3 separate regions of the Homo sapiens genome follow, and regions 2 and 3 are each linked to region 1. Evidence: promoter capture Hi-C in 16 types of primary human blood cells and fetal thymus (Javierre and others, 2016). All regions are on one chromosome and are shown on one strand. The core of a region is centred on a gene start or on the middle of the fragment in contact, and the rest is flanking DNA. Distances in the headings are between cores, read along the strand shown. Region 1 holds the start of REPIN1 (replication initiator 1). Region 2 holds the start of KRABD3 (KRAB domain containing 3). Region 3 holds the start of ZNF467 (zinc finger protein 467).

Region 1 (4,067 bases), core at 701-3,200:
ACACTGAGCTCCCTGTTTAACAGATGAAGCAACTGTGAGACATCAAAGATGACGAGACCTGCCCAAGGTGACACAGTAAGCCAACAGCAGAATCAAGACTAGGGAACAGGTCTTTAAACTCCCAGGCCAGTGTTCTTTCCTCTAAAGCGCCTGGGTTTGCAAAGATCTCAGAGAAAAAGGTGTCTATAGCTTTTCATTCCTAGCCCCACAGGGGAGGCACTTTCAGCATCACTAACTGCAGTCTCCGTAGGAGGCTGGAGGACAAGTGAGAACAGCCCTTCTCGGGGAACAGGAGCAGAGCCCTGGGTGCTACTCCCGGCAGTCTAACGCCAGACCACCGCCTGCCCAGACTGTGCCCCCATTCTGCCCGCCTGCCCTCTTCCACCCACACAAATTAGGACATTGCAGGAAGGAAGGCTCTCCCTGAATCCAAGGAACACCCACAGCCTGCTGCCCTCGGGGCCTGATCACCGGCTCTGCCTCCCTCGGGGTGCTGGAGATTACTGGGGCAATAGAAGGGGAGGGAAGATGAGACTGCAATCTCAGTCCCCTGCCCGGTCCTGCCCCAACCTCGCCAGGGGCTGCCCCATGTTCAGCTCTTCCACAGCTCAGGGGAGCCCAGATTCCTGCACAGGAGCCTCCTCCGCGGAAGGAGGAAGGAAGCAGTTAGGCTCCTAAGGGCCCTTCTGTGCCTGCTCACAAGCTCCAGACACATCCTTCTAAATTCCCTAGAGCGCACTCTCTCTTCTCAGGGAACACAAAGGTCACTCATTCCCAGTGTCAGACTGTGCACAGGGAAGACCCCAGGATATGAGAAAGGGCCATTTCCTTCCGCCGGGATGGGGACGCCCGTGCACCCCTGTTGTGGCGTGGTTTGGGAGCACAGCAAAGGCCAGACTCTACCCTGGAGACTGCAGAGCTGGGGATGAGGCTTTTTCCAGCTCCTCTTGGGGATGTTCCTGGGGATACTTCCGCGGCTGCAGCGCCTGCTTCGGCCCACACTCCGGTAGCCCCCAGGTGTTAGAGAAAACTGCAGTAATAAAGACACCCCTATCCCCATGGCAGAGCTCAGACCTCTGACTGCAGAGAGGCCAGCCTTACCTGTGGGGAGGGAAGAGAAAACAGAAGTGAGGCTCTGAGCTCCTCTAGGGCAGTCAGCTTTGTGTCCTCACCAGCCACAACCCCTCCCCCCACAAAGCCACACGCACCAGCCATAAGCCCCACATCCTGCCTGGCAGAGTGACCTTAATGGACATTGGATTAATAAATGAATGTGCCCCTTCAACAAGGAAGCACACTGCTGTCTTTCGGGGTCACTTTCTTCCCTGGTAAGGTCACGGAACGAATTCTCCATTCTGTGGCCAGAGTCTGGGCTTTCCCTGATGGCCAAAGGCCGGCCTATGGCAGGAACTCTGGAATCCCTGCTGGCTCCCCTTCCCCCAGCCTCCTCCCGACAGGAATTCCAGGCCTATTTCCCATGGGGCTGCGCAGGGCCAGCTGGTGTGACCACGACTCCGTCAGAATCCCCTTCCGCATCGCGGCTGGCCGCGGGTGGCAGAAGCCCCACACCGCCCTTTTGTACTGATGCGTGTCCTCCGTCCACGCTCCCGGGCACACGGGTCCCGTTCTTGCGAGTGAGCCATTTCGGGTCCCACGCACGGCGCAGCTCGCGGAGCCTGTGCGCAGGTGCGCTCCCCCACCCCCGCAGATCCAGCAGCGTCCCCCCCCGCGCACTCACACACGGTCGCGCACACTCACGGTCACGCGCCCCGCAGGTGGAGCGGCCCCCCGCGGGCCCGCGGTGGCCCCGCGCCCCTGCCCCGGCCGTACCTCTGCGGCGGGCTGTGCAGGGACGCGGCGCCCGTCCATGGAGCCCGAAGGCCGGCCTCCGCGGCCCACTCTCGCTCCCCGCCCCGCCGCGGCGACAGCGGCAGGTTCGAGTTCACAACTGCCAGGCCCGTCCCCAACCTCCCCCCGCCGGGTTCCCAGCGCCACGTGACTACAGGAGCTGCCGAGGGTCAGTCGCCGGCTCCCGCGGCCGCGGCCTGGGGGCGGGGAGGGACTGCCGGGGCCGGGGCGCGGGCGCCCCCGCCAAGAGCGGGCCGGGTCACTCAAGCCACTGCCGCGCCAGGGCGGCAGGCCTCGGAGGGTCGGACTCCGTTGCCATGGCGACCACCAGCCCGGGTTTCTCTGGGACTGGCCGGAGCTCAAGTTTCCCGACCCTTTGTCCCTGCGGAGCACGCGCGTCCCCGGGCGACCGCGTGGCTGGCCTATGGTCACCGGGGTGTTCGGCCTTAGCTGCCTTATGAGAGGCTGGGAGCCCGTCGGGAGACTTCAAAGAGGGCTCCGGCAAGCCCCCGGAGCGTCGTTGCCCGGGCCTTTCTCAGGCCGCGCACCCCGGCCGCAGTGCGGACGCTTGCGGCCGCGGCGGTCCCGGGACGGCGGTGGCGCACCTGGAAGGCCCTAGCTTCCGATTTGTTCCAAAGTGGAGCACAAAAAGGCCCGATCCTGCGAACTTTGAAAAGGCCTCTCTTCACTCTTTTCTAGAAATTAAGAAAGAGCAGAAGTTGCTGGGCTTCCTCTGGCTGCGGGCCAAGCGTGGGGCGACGGCCGAGGTGGCCGTTGGCGCACGTGGGGCATTTCGCTTGGAAAGGCTCAGCAGCCTGTGTGGCGTCTGCGGTGGCAGGTGCGAGCCTGTGCCCATGACTCACCCACTAGCAGGTGGCCCTGGCTTTCCAAACTAAACACTTCCTGGGGTTTCCAGGGTAGTACAATTTCATGTACTTTCATGCTTTTCAACACAGGCAATTTTTGAATTGTATAATTAGTCGTAAAAATACTTTTTAAATCTATTGCATAAATAGGAAATAGGGGAACATAAAACTCAGTTTTACCTCGTAGAGTCAATTACATTTAATATTTTGGTATGTTGCCTCCGGTGTTTTCTCTACGTATATCCATGGCATGTCTGGCATAATTGGAATAATGCCTTGCGAAGATGTATTCTGCCTTCTTCACTTAACACGATCTTGTGAATTTTCTTCCATTTTATTAGATATTCTTTTAAACATGATTATTTATGGCTGTATAAAAGGAATATATTTTTTAAATGTTTTCTAAATTATCTTCCAGGAAAACGTATTAGTTTTCCCTGAGAAATGCCCATTTTCCATATACTTGACAACACAGACTTTTTTAAAAAAAAAATTTAGTTTGAAATGGTTATTTCTCATCTTTTGTACTTGCATTTCTTAGAGTACTAGTTAGCTGGATTGTTTTTTCACATGGTTATTTTTTGCCAGTTTTATTTTCTCTTGTGAATTTGTTTATGTCCATTTGCCCACTTTTCTATTTGCCCATTTTAAAAGTTGGGGAGTTGGTTTATTGTTTGGGGGGCACTCATAAAGTACAGGTATTAAAGACTTGTCATGTTTGTTGCAGACGTGTTTCCTCGTACTTGTTAACTTTTTTTTTTTTTTTTTTTGAGACAGGGTTTCACTCTGTCACCAGAGCTGGAGTGCAGTAGCACTATCATGGCTCACTGAAGCCAGGACTTCCTGAGCTCAAGCAATCCTCCCACCTCGGCCTCTGAGTAGCTGGGACTACAGGATCACATCACCACATCCAGCTAATTATTTTATTTTAATGTTTTTCTTCTGTAGAGATGGGGTCTCACTGTGTTGCCCAGGCTGGTCTCAAACGATCCTCCCGCCCCAGCCTCCCAAAGTGTTGGGATTACAGATGTGAACCACTGCATCCGGCCTACCTTTTCAGTTGTTGATGTGAGAAAGTTTTGCTTTAGTCTATGTGCTGCTGAAGCGAGCATAAGAAAGTTTTGTTTTATTTTTATTTTATTATTTATTTATTTATTTATTTATTTATTTATTTATTTATTTTGAGATGGAGTCTGGCTTGTCTCCCAGGCTGGAGTGTAGAGGGAGGTGTGATCTCGGTTCACTGCAAGCTCCGTCTCATAGGTTCTCGCCATTCTCCTGCCTCAGCCTCCCGAGCAGCTGGGACTACAAGTGCCCGCCACCACGCCCAGCTATTTTTTTGTATTTTTAGTA
Region 2 (4,067 bases), core at 507-3,006, 650 kb after region 1:
ACTAAATATATCCCAGCTCTTCCAGGAATCTGTAAGAGATGCTTTCCAGGCCTCTCACCATCTCAGCCTCAAGACAAACTGTTTTGTGATAAAATTCTTAGAAAATGAGAATGGGAACTGACTGTGGCCAGGGTAGGCGCTTCTGCCAGTGGCCTCCCTCTCCCCAGAAAAAGCAAAGAGTGAGGGTTTTGTGTGTGAGGGAGTGAGCAAGTGTGAGTGTGCAAACACCTGGGCTACAAAACTCATCTTCGGGAGGAGGAAGGCCACCACTGGCTGGCTCTGCCCACACACCACCGGCCTTCCTCCTCGGGCCCCACTTCACCTCCTTCCCCCAACCAATGGAGAAAAGCTTTCTGGGCTGACCCAGGACTCTTGTAACTGGGCAGCCTCCTAGCTCATAGCTGCACACTGGTCCTCCTAACATCACCCTTCCACCGTGTCACTAGCCCAGCACAAAAACTGCAGCTTCAGTGCCTGCTGGACCTGCCCCTCTCTCACAGTCCTTCCCAACCTAGACCTGCTCTCCCAGTGGGCCTCAGGCTCGGGCTCCCTGATCAGACCCTGCCACAGGACCTCTCAACCTGGAGGCTGTGCTCACATTGCCCTGGGCTTCTGGGAACCCTCCCTGCTCCTCTCCACCTTACAGTGACCTACCACTCCCCAAGGTCACTCCTGGCCACCTTCTCCATGAAGCTACGTAGTGTGAGGATATTCCCCTCATCAGATCTGAAAGGTCAATGGCCCAAACTCCTCACTTTACAGAACAGGAAACTGTGGTATGAGGAGGCCTTAGGATGGGGCCATGGGCATGTCTGAACCAGGGTGTCCCTAGGCTACTTAACTGTGCAGCCAGACCTGAAAAGGACACTTGACTGTCCCTGCCCAACAACATCCAATTTGCCTAGCCTCTCCCTTCTCCCCAAATGCTTGGGGGCACTAATGACGCCAAGGGCCTGGCACAGTGTTTGCTCTGCCTAGTCACACGCTGCCCCCCATCCATGGCTGCCTCGGACTGGCCAAAGCTCAGGAGCCACCACGGTTGCAGAACTGGCTCCAGGTGCCCATCCAGAAGAACGTGGAGCAGTTGCTGGTATCAGCACCAGATACCTGATACCTCACTGATATCAGCACCAGAGTTTCCCAGCATCGTCACAGCCCACACACAACCTAGCCCAAACGGTGCCCAGGCTGTCACGGCCTGGGGCTCTCCCTCCAGTTCTCAGATCTAAACGCCTTACCTGCAGGCTTCCCAAGACAAAACTTGGGGTTTGTTCTATCTTTGTTTCTCCCCATTTCCACGTCCCCAGCCCCCGGGATCCAGGATTCCACCAAGAACAGAAGTATGAGATTTACTCACTGCCTCCGAGGCCTTCATGCCCACTCTACCAGGATAACTTGTAACGAAACAAGCCACGCCAAGGGGGTTTCCCCAGGTGGAGACTGGGCCGTGGGTACCGGCGGCGGAGAGCTGGAGAGAGGTTGTCCGAGGACCTGAACTTCCCGGCACGAACCCCTGAGCATCAGGCCTGCCCAGCCTCACCCAGCCGATCCCGAAGTTGCGGGGGGGTCCCAGCTCTTTCTCGCCCTACCGCCTTCGGGGCCGCACTGCGCCGAGGGGTCCGCGCGTCCGCCTGCCTTACCTGGCGCGCCATCCCCGGGCTCAGCCTCCCCGCCACTCCTCGGTTTCCGGCGCGGGCCCTGGCGCGGGCGCACGCGACCCTCGTCGGCGGCGGCCCAGGTCCGCGCAGGAGAAGGCGGGGCCGGGGGCCTGGGCCGAGGGGGAGGGGCGGGGGTGGGCGCGCCCGGGCCCGCCCCCGGCCTCGTTGAGCCCGCCCCGAGCGCCTCGCATCCCTTGGTGGGTGGTGCCGTTTCCGCCCGGAGCCCCCGGCTTCGGCGGCCCGGCCGGCCGGCGCAGACGCGGACTACACTTCCCAGAAGGCGCCGCGGCGCCGGCTCGGAAGCGGGGGGCGGAGACAGGGCGGGGCGGACCTGGCTCGGGCCTCGTCCCCGCCCCCTCCCCTCGTCCCCGCCCCCAGCTGCGGGTAGAGGTTGCGCGCCGAGACCAGCCGGGGCGGCTGTGGGCGTGCAAGCCCGCGGGTACGCGCCGCTTATCACTCATTCATTCCCGCAGCCACCACTCAGCGCGTCCCATGTGCCAGGGGCTGATGGTGGGGATGAAGAGGGACCCATCTTTCCCAGAGGCCGCGGTCGGGGAAACCCGACCTGGAGTGAAAGGGGTCGAGGGTCCGGCCGGGCGTGGGTGGGACAGAGCAGCTGCCAGGCCCCCGTACATCCTCACGTCTTTCGCCCGCGCCCCCGCTCGCCGCAGCCATGACCTACCTTCGTGTCACATTTTGCGTGCCTGTTTGCTGGGGTGGTAACCCCAGTTGTTCCTGGCACATAGTAGGCCTCAAATAAACGTGTGATGCGGGAAGGAAGCGCGGCCCACTCTCCTCTGCCTCCCCCTGCGCTTCACGAGTTCGAAGGCCTGGTCTGGGCGGGCGCTGCGAGAGCGCTCCGGGGGTGCGGGCGAGGCGCAGCGAGCCTGGTTTTCCTGTCTGGAGAAGGACCCCGTCATTTTTATAGAAGGCTGCTGGAAGGGGGCCTGCGGGGCTAAGCCTGCTGTGCCAGACAGAAGCTTGGAGGGGAAGGGGAGGCTGTGGTCCCACGCAGAGGAGACTCTGCTCTGAGTTTGGAAGCCCCGTCCAGACCTTGCGGCCCAGACAGCGCTCTGCCTGGGCAATATCGGAGGGAAGGAAAGGGAATTCCTCGCCCAGTCGCCCGGGGCTGGCCCTTGCAGCCGCGCCGGCCATGATCACGGACTCGGGTACGATGCCGACAACCCCTCGTCCCGGCCTCCGAGGAAAGGCGCACGCCCACTCGGGCAAAGCCCCCTCGGTCATACCCGAGACACCTTAGACACAGGACCGGCGTGTGCGCAGCCTGCTGAACAAGGATTTGAAGATATCACAAGGCCCCACCTCGCGGAAAGGGAAAACTTAAAAGTCCAACTTTTCAAGAGCCCTACAGGCCACAGCCCTCAGGGTAAGTCGCCTCCTGGGCTTTAGGCCGGGTCCCACCTCCGTGCCGAGGTGAGGCGGGCTCCTTACAGTAATGTGTTCCTGCTCCCAGCTCCTCTCCACCGCCCACCCTCCGGCCCGGGATCCCTAAACGTTAAAACCCCCTAAATCAGGGGTCCCCAACCTTTTGGGCCAGAGCCCGGTTTTGTGGAAGGGAATTTTTGCATGGACTGGGAGGGGGGTTGTTTTGGGATGAAACTGTTCCAACTCAGATCACCAGGCATTAGATTCTCCTAAGGAGCCCGCAACCTGGATCCCGCATTCACAACAGGGTTCTGGCTCCTATGAGAATCCAGCACCTGCAGATCTGACAGGAGGCAGAGCTCAGGGGTAATGCGAGCAAGGGGGAGTGGCTGTAACTACAGATAAAGCTTTCCCTGGCTTGCCCGCAGCTCACCTCCTGCTGCACTGCCCAGCTCCTAACAGGCCAGGACTGGTACTGGTCCATAGCCCAGGGACTGGGGACCCCTGCCTTAAACTTAAACACCTGTAGAAAGAAATCTCTATCCAAGTAAGATGCACCTTTGTTTTAAGCTGTGCAGATTCTTGGCACCTCTTTGACTCAAACGTCCACTTCCTGGCTAGGCTTCCTGCCCCATTTGTGGACCATCAGTCGCTAAAAGCAGTTCACCAACATGAAATTTGCTGCATGGCCAATTATTTAAATTATGGAGACACTTCCTGGCACCCCTATCCCCCAAATTTTAGTTGCGCCTTTGACCCTGTAGACCTGTATTTACCTCAGCCCGTGTGTGTGCGTTAAAAAATAGTTGTGAAGACCTGTCCTGAACCAGGTTTATTGGATGGCTCTGGACACAGACAAAGGCAGGAGTGGAGCTGAAACACATCTTTAAAAATTCCTTGGCTGGGGCCAGGCACGGTGGCTCACACCTGTAATCCCAGCACTTTGGGAGGCCAAGGCTGGTGAATTGCTTGGGCCTGGGAGTTCCAAACCAGCCTAGGCAACATGATGAAACCCCATCTCTA
Region 3 (4,067 bases), core at 1,036-3,535, 600 kb after region 1:
GCCCCAGGGCACCAGCTGCCCACAACCGGATTGGACCTGCCACACCAGCCCCTCAGAGGCCAGCTCTCCCTGGAAACAGTCTCCTTCCTGTCCCCTTCCAGTGCATCTGTTTCCCTTTGTGTGTGTGTGTGTGTGTGTGTGTGTGTGTGTGTGTGTGTGTGTGTATTTTCACACTCTCAGGCACTACCACAAATTAACATGGGGCTCTGGGCAAGCCACCCTCCATTTCTGGGCCTCAATTTCCTTCCCAGTAAAAATTTCAGGGACTTCCCAGGGATGCACAAATAGGTCTCAGACTCCAGTAATTCTTTGAAATTGTATGTGCACATTTTTCTGAAGACAGTTCTATACTTTTATTAGATTCTCAAGAGGGCCATGACCCCATGAAAAGGTTAAGAGCTCCTGGGCTAAACGACTGATGGGGTCTTCCAGCCTTGAACTTCTGCCTGGATGATGCTCCCCTGCCTCCCGCCCCTCTCTTGCCCAAACTGAGGAGTCGGGGGCAGTGAGTGGGAGCACTTCTAGGGTAGCTGGGGTTCCTGAGTGTGTGGAGATGCGTGGGCAACATGTACCCTTTTCTCCAGGGTCCAGTTTCTTGCTGGGGATGATTATGTGTGGCTGGTTGGGCCCACCCTGTCTCCTTCTTCGAGGGTCTCCTAGAGTCTCTGGGGTCTAGAACTGGGGAGCCTATGCTGAGGAATGAGAGGACCCTCTGGAAGGAGTGGGCGGGGGAGCCAGCTCCCCCAGCCCTGGGGCAGAGCTAAGCCGGATGAAATAATCCGAGAATCCGGCTGGGAGGGGCAGTGACAGGCTCCACAGGGGAATCCGGGGTCCACCCTGGTCCCAGCAGAGCTCTGAGCACACCCGGACACCCGGGCTGGAATGCAGCCTGGCTCCGACTCCACACCCCTCGGTCTCCTAAACCTGATATCCCTCCGAGTATCCTGTAGAGTCATTCCACCTAGGGGAGGAAGGGGGCTGCTGTTAACCAGAGCTGGGCCGGGCTCTCCTTCTCCTGGGTTCACCATTGGTCCCAGGGCCAAAAAAGGGCCCAGAGTGAGTCTCTCAGGGGGTCACGGATGACTGGGATCAACTCCTGCTCTGGAGTCCTCAGAAAGAGCCACACGCACACCCAGACACCCCCCTTTCCTGTTTTACACACATGCACACTCTCACTGTAAGTCTCACAACACCGGCACAGGTGCTCGGCCACACCCCAGCACGCACAGTGACACATGCTACTCCAGGTGCTCCCTTCATCCTGGAGGCAGAGGAGCCTTCACAGCTGAGCCCGAGTGATGGGCGCTCTTCCAGGCACTCATCCTTGTGGTGGGCTGTGGTAGCAGGAGCTCAAGGGCCATTCACACCCTCCCCTTCCCAGCCTCACTCAGCTCTGGATTCAAACCGGGGCTGATCAGGCAGCACTGGGATTGGGAAGAGACCCGAGTTGCAGTCACCCTTTCCCGTAAAGGGGCAGAAGGGAGGAAGCTGGAACCCAGGGGTTTGGAGAAAGTTCATGGAGAGGAGACCGGGAACTAACAGTCCAGACTTCAGCATCTCCGGAGCTTTCAGGAGTGGGCGCAGCGGGAACAAGGCCAAGGAGAAACCTCGTAACCTGGGCAGGGAGGGCGAGTGGAGTCCCCTGAGGAGCTGGGGCTGAGGGCTGAGGGCTGAGGGCTGCCCTCCACATCTAACTCCAGGTGGTGTCCGGGCCAGCAGGCCCCCCAGCAATCGTCTCCCGCCCATAGAGCCCTCCCCTCTCTGCAGCCCCCTCCCAGACCCTCCCCCGGACCCCGCCCTCAGAATCTCCGCCCAGCCCCGTCCCAGCCTTGCCCCCTGGAGCTCCCGACCTGGCCCGGCCTTCTCCCAGGGGACCTGGCTTAAAGTCCTCTCCCCAGTTTCTACTTCGAAGGACCCGTTCTCGCAAGCACAGGGGCCCAGCCCTCTCTCCCGCCTGCCCCCACGGCTCCCGCGGCTGGTTTCGAATCGGGTCCTCGGGACTCCAGGCGAGGGGCTGCGGGTCTGGGTGGATCGGGGTGGAATCCGGGTGGAGAATGGGGGCGGGGCCGGAGTTTCCCAGACCGACCCCCCGGGCCGTCCTCCCGCGGGAGCGCGGCGCTGCACACCCGGCTGGCACCGGCGACTTAGAGACGGCAGCGCACGACTCGCTGGCTCCCCCCCGACACGGCCCCTCCTCGTTCCCCCAACTCCTCCCCGCCACCCCCCCACCCGTTCGCGCTCCACCTTTCCCCGGCTCCTCCCTCCGCGGCCGCGAGCACCCTCCCTTGGCACCCTTCCCCGCAGCCCGAGTGCCTGTCCTCCCCAGCCTCCTCGCCCTCCTCCACCCCCTCTCCCATCACCCTCCCCTCCCCTCCCCTCCCCTCCCCCGTCCTGAGCTCCCACTTCCACACCTACTCCAGGCTCGGAGCCTTAGGACCATCACCTGCCCACCTAAGCCCACGGTGCTCCCTCCTGGGACCCCACTCCTGAAACCCCCTGCCCCTGCCTCCCCCAGCCCGGTGCGCCGGGGCTCTCCGCCCGCTCCCTCGGTCCCTCCTCCCTTGCAGGCGCCGTTTCCCGGCTTCGACTCCCCGCGCGTCTATCCCTCTCCTCCCCGCGAAGTTTCGGGGCTGTCAGTCTGTCAGTCTTTCAGGCCGTCAGCACCCGAGCTGCAGGCGGCGAGCGCCATTGTGAGCAGAGCCGGCGGGGCAGGAGGCCCGGGCGCCTGGGTCCCCGCGGCGCGGGCGGAGCGGCCGGCCAGCCAGGTAAGGGCCGGGGAGGCTCCTCTGCAGGCGGCCCCGCCCGCGTCTCCCTCAGCGCCGCGGTTGGGTCACGGCCGGCTCCGCGCAGGTGACAGCCCCGGGGGTAGGGGCGCGGACGGCGGGCGTGGGGGAGGGGCGCGGGTCCGGGGAGGTCGGGGGCTGGGGGGAAGGGAGGGCAAGGCCGGCGCGGGCAGGGTGAGGGCTGTGGGGGTAGAGGAGACCGGGGGGGCTGGAGGGAAGGGCGGGGGCTGGGAGGGGGTCGGGCGGGAGGCAGGTGGGAAGGGGGACGACGGGCCCCGAGGGGAGGAGAGAGGGAGTGTGGGAGGGGGCCGAGGGGGAAGGGGAGGAAGAAGCGGGCGCTGGGGACCGGGCCACTCGGTAGGGGCGGGAGAGGAGGGCGCTGACAGGTGAGCCCCGGAGCTGGGGAGGGGGCCGGGACCTGGAATGAAGTCGGCGATCGGAGCTGCTTGGGAGGGCGGCGGGGCAGGGAGGTGGAGCTGAGGGTCCCGTCGGGAGGAAAACTTGGGAGGGGTGAGAAGTCCGAGGGGAGCAGAAATAGGGAGGGGGCGCCGCGGCGGAGAAGAGAGGCGCGGAGGGGTGTTCGGAGGGGAGACGGAGTGGGGAGGGCAGGGCCCGCGGGAAGGTCCCGAGAGAGCGGGTCAGCCCTAGACCCCCAGGCTTGGGGGCCGGAGGACCCGGGAGCTGGGAAGCAGCCTGGGAGGGGGGAGGGGAAGAGCGGTTCTGGGGACTGGGGACGGGGAGGGAAGCGAAGCTGGAGCCTGCTGGGGAGACAGAGGGGGAAGGGAGGCGGGGGCCTCGGAGGGGAAGGAGAGCTGCAGAAGGGAGGGGGGAGGGGGAGGGCGGTGGGGAGACGTGGGGGAGGGCTGGAAAGGGGGAGGGGAAGGGAACCGAGGTGAGGCGAGGAAAGGAGAAGGAAGGGAAACCGGGGTGGGGGAGGAGAGGAGGGAGGGGAGAGGAGAACTGGGTTGGGGAAAAGAGCTGAGAGGAGGAGGGCGGGGGTTGGCGAGGAAGGAAAAGAGGAGGGGGAAAGGAAGGGAGAGGGTGTGCAGCCGGGGAGGGAGATGGAGCGGGGGAGAACCGGGAGGGTAGGGAAAGGCAGCCTGGAGTCTGAGAGGGGGAGGGGAGCGCTGCCGCCGAGGCGGCCCGGAGCGTAGGGTCAGGGGAGGCGGTGGCAGCGGAGGGCCGACCCGGACGGGGCCTCGAGGGGTTGGCCCTGCCGGGCTCGGGCGGGCGGAGCCTGAGGGGCGGGGCCGGGGGCGGAGCCGAGGCGCCGGCCCGATTCGC

Evidence for each region. Contacts are between HindIII fragments. The CHiCAGO score rates a contact against its expected background, and 5 or more counts as called.
Region 2: a contact is called between the fragment with the promoter of KRABD3 here and the fragment with the promoter of REPIN1 in region 1, in 1 of 17 cell types (total B cells). The highest score is 5.5, in total B cells.
Region 3: a contact is called between the fragment with the promoter of ZNF467 here and the fragment with the promoter of REPIN1 in region 1, in 1 of 17 cell types (fetal thymus). The highest score is 6.2, in fetal thymus.

The regions. Positions count from the first base shown.
Region 1 is chr7:150,366,705-150,370,771 of GRCh38, reverse strand. REPIN1 (replication initiator 1) reads right to left here and starts at 1,950. Exons shown (of 3, transcript NM_001099695.2): 1 at 1,831-1,950; 2 at 904-1,101. The coding sequence starts at 1,060. REPIN1-AS1 (REPIN1 antisense RNA 1) reads left to right here. Exons shown (of 4, transcript NR_183429.1): 3 at 1-67. RefSeq lists enhancers at 1-766, 767-1,572, 1,573-2,377, 2,417-2,476 and silencers at 1,037-1,186, 1,697-2,166. The HindIII fragment of the contact is 10,402 bases long and covers 1-4,067 here.
Region 2 is chr7:149,712,640-149,716,706 of GRCh38, reverse strand. It overlaps KRABD3 (KRAB domain containing 3), which reads right to left and starts at 1,756. Exons shown (of 17, transcript NM_001290187.2): 1 at 1,641-1,756. The coding sequence starts at 1,652. RefSeq lists enhancers at 834-1,466, 2,104-2,603 and silencers at 1,669-2,108, 2,935-3,229. The HindIII fragment of the contact is 2,289 bases long and covers 352-2,640 here.
Region 3 is chr7:149,771,806-149,775,872 of GRCh38, reverse strand. It overlaps ZNF467 (zinc finger protein 467), which reads left to right and starts at 2,285. Exons shown (of 5, transcript NM_207336.3): 1 at 2,285-2,765. RefSeq lists silencers at 2,663-2,842, 3,779-3,928, 3,939-4,067. The HindIII fragment of the contact is 21,836 bases long and covers 1-4,067 here.